3 separate regions of the Homo sapiens genome follow, and regions 1 and 2 are each linked to region 3. The links are contacts of gene promoters, found by promoter capture Hi-C in blood cells and fetal thymus (Javierre and others, 2016). All regions are on one chromosome and are shown on one strand. Each heading gives the region's core, a stretch centred on a gene start or on the middle of the fragment in contact. The rest is flanking DNA. Distances are from core to core; before and after follow the strand shown. Region 1 has its middle 19 kb from the start of SLAMF1. Region 2 holds the start of LOC124904439 (endogenous retrovirus group K member 18 Env polyprotein). Region 3 holds the start of ITLN2 (intelectin 2).

The links. The method cuts DNA at HindIII sites, captures the fragments that hold promoters and counts their contacts. A CHiCAGO score of 5 or more calls a contact.
Region 1: a contact is called between a fragment that was not itself captured here and the fragment with the promoter of ITLN2 in region 3, in 2 of 17 cell types (M2 macrophages and total B cells). The highest score is 8.0, in M2 macrophages.
Region 2: a fragment that was not itself captured here is called in contact with the fragment with the promoter of ITLN2 in region 3 in 15 of 17 cell types (total B cells, naive CD4 T cells, total CD4 T cells and 12 more); the score reaches 14.5 in total B cells.

What each region holds. Positions count from the first base shown.
Region 1 is chr1:160,664,413-160,667,417 of GRCh38, reverse strand. No RefSeq gene overlaps it. Among named protein-coding and RNA genes, the nearest start is that of SLAMF1, 19 kb to the right of the region's middle. RefSeq lists enhancers at 1,363-1,924, 1,938-1,997. The HindIII fragment of the contact is 529 bases long and covers 1,454-1,982 here.
Region 2 is chr1:160,680,290-160,683,417 of GRCh38, reverse strand. It overlaps CD48 (CD48 molecule), which reads left to right. Exons shown (of 4, transcript NM_001778.4): 3 at 1,950-2,216. It overlaps LOC124904439 (endogenous retrovirus group K member 18 Env polyprotein), which reads right to left and starts at 212. Exons shown (of 1, transcript XM_047438433.1): 1 at 1-212. RefSeq lists an enhancer at 1,895-1,984. The HindIII fragment of the contact is 2,742 bases long and covers 1-2,737 here.
Region 3 is chr1:160,953,027-160,956,148 of GRCh38, reverse strand. It overlaps ITLN2 (intelectin 2), which reads left to right and starts at 1,340. Exons shown (of 8, transcript NM_080878.3): 1 at 1,340-1,422; 2 at 1,699-1,762. The coding sequence starts at 1,408. The HindIII fragment of the contact is 24,751 bases long and covers 1-3,122 here.

The sequences.
Region 1 (3,005 bases), core at 469-2,968, 290 kb after region 3:
TGTAATCCCAGGACTTTGGGAGGCTGAGGCAGGCGGATCATGAGGTCAGGAGTTTGAGACCAGCCTGACCAACATGGTGAAACCCCATCTCTACTAAAAATACAAATACAAAAAAATTAGCTGGGTGTGGTGGTGCATGCCAGCTACTCAGGAGGCTGAGGCAGAAGAATCGTTTGAACCCGGGAGGTGGAGATTGCAGTGAGCCGAGATTGTACCACTGCACTCCAGCCTGGGTGACAGAGCAAGACTCCACCTCAAGAAAAAAAAAAAAAAAGGGAAAGGGTGGGAAGACTGCATTCTTCAAATATATCCATGTCATAAAGGAGAAGATATAGCTGTGGAAATGTTACAGTTGAAGGGTACTAAAGAGATACAACAACTAAATGCAATACCTAATACTGGACTGGATCCTGACCTGGAGGGAAAATTATGGTTACAAAGGGTCAACCGACAAAATTGAAATGCAAACAGTAGGTTAGACAAGAATATTGTTATCAATGTAAAATTTACTTAAGTGATAACTATATTGTAGTTGTGTCAGAAATTATCCTAATTCTTTACACTGATGTATTTAAGATAAAGAGCCATGCCATATGCAACCTACCCTATAATAGTTCAAATAGAGACAGAAAGAGAGAGAGAGAGAGAACTAGCTAATATTAAAGCAAAATGGGCAAAACATTACAGAGAGGTATTCACAGTCACAGCCAACTTGTAGACCCCTCCCTGCAGGATATTTATAAGCGTGTTCTTTGTACTATTATTAATAATAATTTTTTCTTGCAGCTCTTTTGACATTATTTTCAAATAAAAAGTTAACTACACAGATTAATGAAAGGTCTGCAATACTTATTTCCCCTTGATGGTCCTTCAAGATGCTGAGGGTCTGTTCTGCATTTACCACATCCTCTTCTTTCCTTGTATAGGCCTCTCCTTTTATAGACCTGTGAGTTCTCAGAGTACATTATCATTTTCAACCTTGAATTCCCATTGAAACCCTTGAATTCCCATTGAATCATCTGCCAAAGACGACAGTTTATTTTTCTGTTGATCCAATCAAGAAAAGGAGAAAGCTTCCATGAATAATAAACAGATGGGGACTACAAGTTCCTGTGACTCTGCCGGGCTCTGCCCAATGTGTCTCTCCATTCTGGCTCCCAGGCTACAGGAGCACAGCCTCTGTCAGTCTTGCTATCTCTGGCAGAGGACAGCAACACAGAGCAGAAGGACCTCTTTAAAGCCTAGGTTTAATAATGACAACATTTTCATGCTTAAATCCTTCAAGGATAGGCTCGTTGGAGAGCCTACAGGGTTCTACTGATCCTTATGTGGCTTGGTTTCTGTGATTTTCTCCTGTCCAATTTCTAGTTTGGCCCCTCCTTTGCACTGAATGCTGCAACCTTCCTGAACTGCTAGCAGTTCCCCGAATTTACTCAATGCCTTTGCTCAAGCTTTTACACTTCCTGGAATCCCCTCCCACTCCTCGTTGACCTAACAAACTCCCACTCATTTGTTAAGACTCAAACCAATTGTTGCCTCTCCAAAGTCCAAGAACCACTTCTTAGGAATAGGACTCTCTCCCTGGTCCATAATCACCGTTTCCCACCCTCTTTGTGATAGGAATGATTACTACAAAGAAGACTTAGAAATCGTCAGCAGGGAAGCCCATAAAATTTGCATTTCCTAATTTTCTGTAATCTTGGTGGAGGACAGGAAGGAAGTGGCCAGGCCAAGGCCGTCTGGCAAGTTACCAGCAGGGCTGAGGCTGGAAGTCAAATACACATTCTCCTTTCTTTGTTGATACTACTGGGTACTCCCTGGGGCTTGACCCATTGCCCTTCTTATGTTCGAAAATGTCTTCTGGACTCTGTCAAACCCTAGACAACTCAATTTTGCAGGACCTTCTAGGGGGGCAATGTTGGAGGGCTTGTTGGCTCCTAGAGAGAGCACTGGAATGAGCATGTTTGGTTGGTCTTCAAGCTTATACCTAGTACCCAGAACCACATTTCAAGCTTCTGGGAGGTTGTGTGGTATAGGGGAAGGAGCATGACCTTTGGAGCCAGACAGCCTTGAGTTTGAGTTCCAGAACCGTCATTTACCAGCTTCTGAACCTCAGGAAAAGTAAACTTTCTAAACCTCGGTTTCCGTATGTGGATGATTTTTAAAATCAGGATTAAATGAGATAACCTCAATAAATCATTCCACATAAAGTCTGCCATACAGTAAGTGCTCAATAAGTATTAGTTGCCTTCCTCTGTCCCAAACTTCTCCTTCCTCTCTTCTGGGCTGGCAACTCTAATTTTAATGAATTAAGACAAGATCTCTTAGCTTAAGTTTCCCCAAGTGTAAAATAAGAGGGAAATGGTTGTATAACTCATATGACCCAGATCACGGCTTCTTTCTATTTTGCTTTTATCAATCTTCTCAATCAGGTCTGTGTACTGAGCACAAAGGCTGCCCATGGGTGTGACATGAACAACGGAGGTTTTGCTCTCAGAGGAAGTGGAGAGGGGTTGGGAGGTACCTGGGGAAATGCAAATTTCATGGCTAAGTAGGACTTCCCTAGGTCTGCTGACTTCCAAGATGCTTCTGAGGCATAATTCCAGTGATGATGTGAAGGTGTGGGGCCAGTTCTACCCCCACCAAAAAAGGCCACAATCAGTATATTCATTCCACAAACATTTTTAGCACTTGCTGTATGCCAGGCATTGTTAGATTGGGGAACCATGAAGGTAAATAGAGCATAATGAAACTCAATCAGGATATGGGTGGATTGACCTAAACCCAAGAGATTTGGTTTCTGGTTACGGCTTTTCAAAAACTAGCCATATGGTAAGTCCCTTAGAAGTTTTAGTCTCTAAGTATTAGCTTTCTTGGGGTGAAATGAAGGAGTTGAAAATATGACTTCTATATTTGTTTGCTTTCCTTCAGATTATACTTCTCCTCTCAAAGTCAGCTCTGTGTTTTCAAATAGCCCCTGGAAATCTCCATATGCATGAACCGTA
Region 2 (3,128 bases), core at 117-2,616, 270 kb after region 3:
AATTTCTGAGTACTTAAAAATCCACAAACTGGCTTGGGCTTCAGCACATCCTGCCTGAGGGTAAGATTTCCAGGAAGTGATTAGCAGAAAAAATGGTCCTCTGGTCCAGCCCAAGCATTTCTGACAGCTCAAAGCGAGCATCTTGGAGCTGGACAACCCAAGCTGGCTCAATTAATTCCATCAGCAAAGTGCCCAGTGCTGTGCTGATCACCATGGGAAATGCAGAAGGAGTGTAAGATATGAGGCTAGAACACAGGAAATGGTGAAAACCAGGATAAAAATTGCTCAATTAAAACATATAGGGGAAGTCCAGGAAACTTTTATCACCTCTGTAGTCTGAGCAATCTTTTAGCGATCTGAGATCAGCTTCACAGAGGAGACAAAACTAGAGTTCTAGAGACCAGATTGGTAGAGCTTCTAGAGCCTCTCCACACATACAACCAAGAGGCAAGCTCTGATCTGGTCAATTCTCTGCCAATTTTTAATCTTATGGGATTTGAGTTGCATTGATTCTGCAGATGTTTCACCCTGACCAGAATGAAAAGATCTCAGAGGATTGCAGGTAAACCGGCCTTAGCCAAGGAAGGACCAGATGCTGGGACTATCTCTCATTCTCTCCGGCAGCAGTACAACAGTAATAATGGTAAAATGGCCTCTAGAATGTATGCAATACTTACACTCTTCAAAAAGCAATTATCCATGACAGGTGACGTTTTATCTTACTAACATTGCGCGATGAGGTAGAGTCAGTTTACAGATGACAGCAAGGGGGTTAACTACCTTGCCTAATGTCACTCCACTAGAGTCAAGTCCAGGACCCAGGCTGGTCTCACTCCAAAACTAGTGTTTTTGTGTCTACTTGCCTCCCTCCCTCCCTCCCTCCCTTCTTTTTCTTTTTCCTCTCTTCTCTTCCCTTCTCTCTCTCTTTCTTCCTTTCTTTCTTCTTTTTTTTTTTTTTTTGAAGGTCTTCTCCTTACCCAAGCTGGAGTGCAGTGGTATAATCATAGTTTATTGCACCCTGGAACTCCTGGGCTCCAGCAATCCTCCTACCTCAGCCTCCTGAGTAGCAGGGACTAAAAGTGCACACCACCACACCTGGCTACTTTTCTTTTCTTTTCTTTCTTTTTTTTTTTTAGAAACTGAGTCTCTCAATGTTGCCCAGGCTGGTCTCTTAACTCCTGGCTGCAAGCAATCCTCCTGCCTCAGCCTCCCAAATTGCTGAGATTACAGGTGTGAGCCGCTGCACCCGGCTGTGTTTTATCCTTTCTATCTCATAACTACTTCATTCATCCTTTCATGAGATACTTATAGAATACCTGCCATGTGGCAGGGATTGTGCTAGACATGGAGATACCAAAGTTAGCAGACCAATCTGTTTATCACAATTGATGCGGCTGGAAGTTACATGAAGTTCTTCTCTGTAGCTCTGCCAGAGTCTAGAAGGCTGGCACCTGCACTGGATGGTTGTGCAAAGGACTTTGCCACGCGCAGACAGGTACCTCTTACCTTAGGACTCTTGCTGAAGCTGAATCCGATAATTGGAAAGACAGACCAGCCAAGGTGCCCGCCATGAACCGTTGCTAGAGAAGGGTCCCTGAGCATCTCAGGCAGTTGATATACTAAGTCTGACCCCAGCAAGTCTCTGGGCTGTTCGTTCAGGCTCACACACGATCATAACCCCATTTTGTTCCCAGAGCATATGATGGACTGTGGCGCCCCCTCCAGGACGCAGCTTAGCTTCACTGCCTAGAAGCCGCTCTTGCAGTGAGTCTGTGAGGCCTCAGGAGGTCAAGGCTGCTCACTGGCTCCCTCTGTAGAACTTCTTCTTCATGACTCTGCCTCCTGGGGCATTCAGGCCCCTTCCCTGGATCCCTTTGTTCTTTGTTGGCTAAACCTTCACAGCATGAATGCCTCACTGTCTCATCTTATAACATCCTCCTCACTTTCAGACCCTGTACCCAAGCCTGTCATCAAAATTGAGAAGATAGAAGACATGGATGACAACTGTTATCTGAAACTGTCATGTGTGATACCTGGCGAGTCTGTAAACTACACCTGGTATGGGGACAAAAGGCCCTTCCCAAAGGAGCTCCAGAACAGTGTGCTTGAAACCACCCTTATGCCACATAATTACTCCAGGTGTTATACTTGCCAAGTCAGCAATTCTGTGAGCAGCAAGAATGGCACGGTCTGCCTCAGTCCACCCTGTACCCTGGGTAAGAAGGATCCCTGGGAGCTGAGGGGGGCACAGGGTAACTGGAGTTGTTTTGAACAAAGAAAGGCTGGGGGTCCTATTCAGCCTCCTTGCACAGTGTGGTGGTGAATCCCTAAGGTGTCTGGGAGAGCTGGGAGACGTGGGTTCTGCCACCAGCTCTACCACCACCTCCCAGCCAGCTTACCTCAACTTCGTGGGGGCTCAGTGTTCTCACCTGCAAAGGACGTTTGGGAGAGATCTCTGATACTCCTCTTCCCTCTCCCGCTCTAACAAAGCATAGTCCTAACATCTGAGGCCAGGGTCATCATAGAGTAGACTGAAACATCAGGGTGAGCAGGGAGAAGGAAGGGCAAGTGGGCGAGCAGCTGTCTAGAGGGGCTTCATTAGACAGCCGAAGTCAGCCAAGGAAAGAGGGACCGAGGTCATTAGACCGCCAAAGTCAGCCAGGGAAAGAGGGACTGAGGAGACGGGCCTGAGAGAGGCCGTCGAGGAGGCGTGAGAGCCTGAGCCTCAGGCGAAGCTTCTCCTCCCCAGCCTGATGTTCCTAGATGAACTTAGGAAGCCAGATTCCCCTGTCTCCTGGGAGGATCCACTCATGAGTGTCACACCTGGCTCTAGATCAGGCCTACACTGGTGCTAGCATGGGACAGCTAAGGCCATGGGTTTTAGAGTCAGTCATACCTGGGGTCACTTCTAGGACTGTCACTTACTAGCTAAACAAGTTACTTAGCTTCCCCAAGTCATGTTCTTCCTAAATAAAGGACAAAATAACAGTTCCTATCTCGTGCTAAGGATTCAATGAGACAAGACACGTAACTGCCTATCACAGTGGCTGACAAGTCCTTAGTAAGCGGGAGCTAAATGAGACGCAGTCTCTTAGAGTTTTGGGGACCCTTAATAAACTTGGATCAAT
Region 3 (3,122 bases), core at 91-2,590:
GGGTGCCTGTAATCCCAGTTACTCGGGAGGCTGAGACAGGAGAATCACTTGAACCTGGGAGGCGGGGGTTGCAGTAAGCTGAGACCATGCCATTGCACTCCAACCTGGGTGACAGAGTGAGGCTCTGTGTCAAAAAACAAAACAAAATAAAAAAAACCCATACGCATTTATTTAAAGGTAAAAGCCCATGATGTATGTACCTTACCTTCAAATGGTTCAGAAAAAAATTTTGTGTGTGTGGGTGTATTTTATATACATATATCTATATATATATAGAGAGAGAGAGAGAGAACACGAAAGATAAAGCAAATGGGGTGAAATATTAACAATAGTTGAATCTAGGTAAAGGGCATATATGTGGCTTTATATTATTGTTATTTTTGCAACATTTAATAAATTTCAAATTGTTTCTAAACAGAGTTAATAAAACAATAAAATTACAGCAGGATACATGCAATAATTAGTGTTTGGACAGTGTATAGTGGGACAAAGGAAGGATCCATCAGCTTTGTCTGGTGATGGGGGTGTCAGGGAAGGCCTCATAGAGAAATTGGAGGAAAGATTGGAAGGATGATGTCTTCTTTTCCCATTTATTTATTATTATTATTATTATTATTATTTTGAGGTGAAGTCTTGCTCTGTTGCCCAGGCTGGAGTGCAGTGGAGCAGTCTTGGCTCACTGCAACCTCCACCTCCTGGGTTCAAGCAGTTCTCCTGTCTCAGCCTCCAGAGTAGCTGGGATTACGGGTGCACGCCACTGCACCCAGCTAAATTTTTGTATTTTTAGTAGAGACAGGGTTGCACCATGTTGGCTGGTCTTGAACTCCTGACCTCAGGTAATCCGCCCACCTCGGCCTCCCAAAGCGCTATGATTATAGGTGTGAGCCACTGTGCCTGGCCAATTATTATTCTTAATTAATTAATTTATTTTTCATGAGGTGTCACCTCAGTCTAAAAGGATGATTTCTTGACAGAGTTGTGTCTAGGGGGCCAGGGCATCTGGGGGAGGTGGGAGAGGGAGAACGCAGGGGAGGATTGTGACCTATCCACGAATCTGATTAGATACTGCTACATTGTATGGCCTGCCTTGGCAAAGCAGGATGCCCCTCCTCAGATGGCGACAGTCACCTGTGTGGCCAGGAACACAGCTCCCTGCTCCTCCAGCCAGTCGCACGTCCTTTCTCATTTCCACGGTCCCAGGCTCAGGTACCCTCAGAGGGAAGGGCTTCAGAGGGAGGGGCTAGCAGCCTAGGCTGCTCAGGGTTGGGCTGGGCAGGGCTCAGGTGGTTTGGCTCTCCACAGCTCTCCACATAAAGGGACCAGCACTTCACCCTTCATCAGGATCCTCTGCAGGGGAGCTCCGAGTGTCCACAGGAAGGGAACTATCAGCTCCTGGCATCTGTAAGGATGCTGTCCATGCTGGTGAGAAAAATGTTTTTGATCCATGTGTGTGGGAGCAATGATGCCAGCTCAGGTCTCAGTTTTAGAGATTTAGAGTTTCAGGGAAATGAGCCCATGGCCCCTTGGGTATTTGTAGTGTTGGACAGCCGTGGGGCATATTCCAGGAGGTTTTAGAATGCTCATGAGCCCATCACTTTCCATTTGAGGATTCCTGACTCAGAAAGGTTAGGAAGTAAGAACGAGAGGATGACAAAGGAAGGGCCAGCCAGTGACCTTGTGCATCTTGTTTTTCCTTAGAGGACAATGACCAGACTCTGCTTCCTGTTATTCTTCTCTGTGGCCACCAGTGGGTGCAGTGCAGGTAAATGGCTTCTGAGAGTAGGAGCTGCAGTTTCCTGGGCTCCCCTCTGCTGTGCAGGGCCTGGAGGGAGTAGAGCTGGGCAGGGCTCTGAAGTCAAGGGTCAAAGGGGAAGTTCTGGAGAGGCAGGGAACCCAGGCTAGGCAGCCAACTTGAGGTGTGGACTGGGTGCTGATTTCTGGCCTCTCCTGGGGTCTGGTCTGAAGCAGTCAGGGTGTTAGCTCAGGTATTTCCTAGGGCTTGATTCTCTGCTTCTGTGGCTGTGAGGGGTTCATGGGGTGAGAGAGTAAGAACTGTGTCCCTGCTCAGCTGCTCTTGTGGCCTTGGCCTTGGGATCTCCAGAGGCAGCTGGGTGATCAGTGCTGTGTCCAGGGTACACCCTCCTCTAGTCGCAGAGGAGGATATTGTGAGAATAGAATCCTCACAATTCTATTCTTCCAGTAGGCACAATAGTGATATTTTTTCATTGATACTGGGTTTATTGTTTATTTCAATCCATCAGTTAAAAAAAGCACATTTACATATGTCATCTCATTTGATCTCCATGCGTATAAAGAAGTTATTAATGACATCTTAAAGATGAAGAAAAAGGATCAGAGATGTTAAGTGTCTGCTCAAGGAGGCACTGTCATCAGGGTTTGTCTGGATTTTACCTTGAGTCCTGTAATTTTTTTTTTTTTAGACGGAGTCTTGCTCTGTTGCCCAGGTTGGAGTGCGGTGGCGTGATGTCGGCTCACTGCAACCTCCGTCTCCTGGGTTAAAGAGCTTCTCCTGCCTCAGCCTCCCCAGTAGCTGGGATTACAGGTGTGCACCACCACACCCCAGCTAATTTTTGTATTTTTAGTAGAGATGGGGTTTCACCATATTGACCAGGCTGTTCTTGAACTCCTGATCTTGTGATCCACCCTCCTCGGCCTCCGAAAGTGCTGGGATTACCGGCATGAGCCACTGTGCCTGGCCTGAGTCCTGTAATTTTACACTTTTTCCCGCTCTGCCAGGCTTTTGGAATGATTTCTAGGCTTTTAGACTTATATACATGGCCCTTCATCCACTGGCCTCTGTTAATTTTTCAGCTTTGGTTTCCAGACTTCTTTGTATTACAACATATGTTCCAGCCACAATAAGCGACTGACCTGTAGTTTTTGGCAGGCTGGGCTGGGCTGGGCTCTGTTATTGCTTCAGGCCATCTCATGTGCTTTCTTCTCTTCCTGGGGTGTACTCTCCCCTTTCCTTCCTGTCCTGTAGCCAGCTCCCATTCTCCCATCAAAATCAGCCTGCTCTGAGTTACAGCTGGTCCCTTCCCCAGCAGTTCCCAGGCCTCACCCCCGTTAGTGGGTTTGCCCTCCCATCTCAGTTGGGTCCC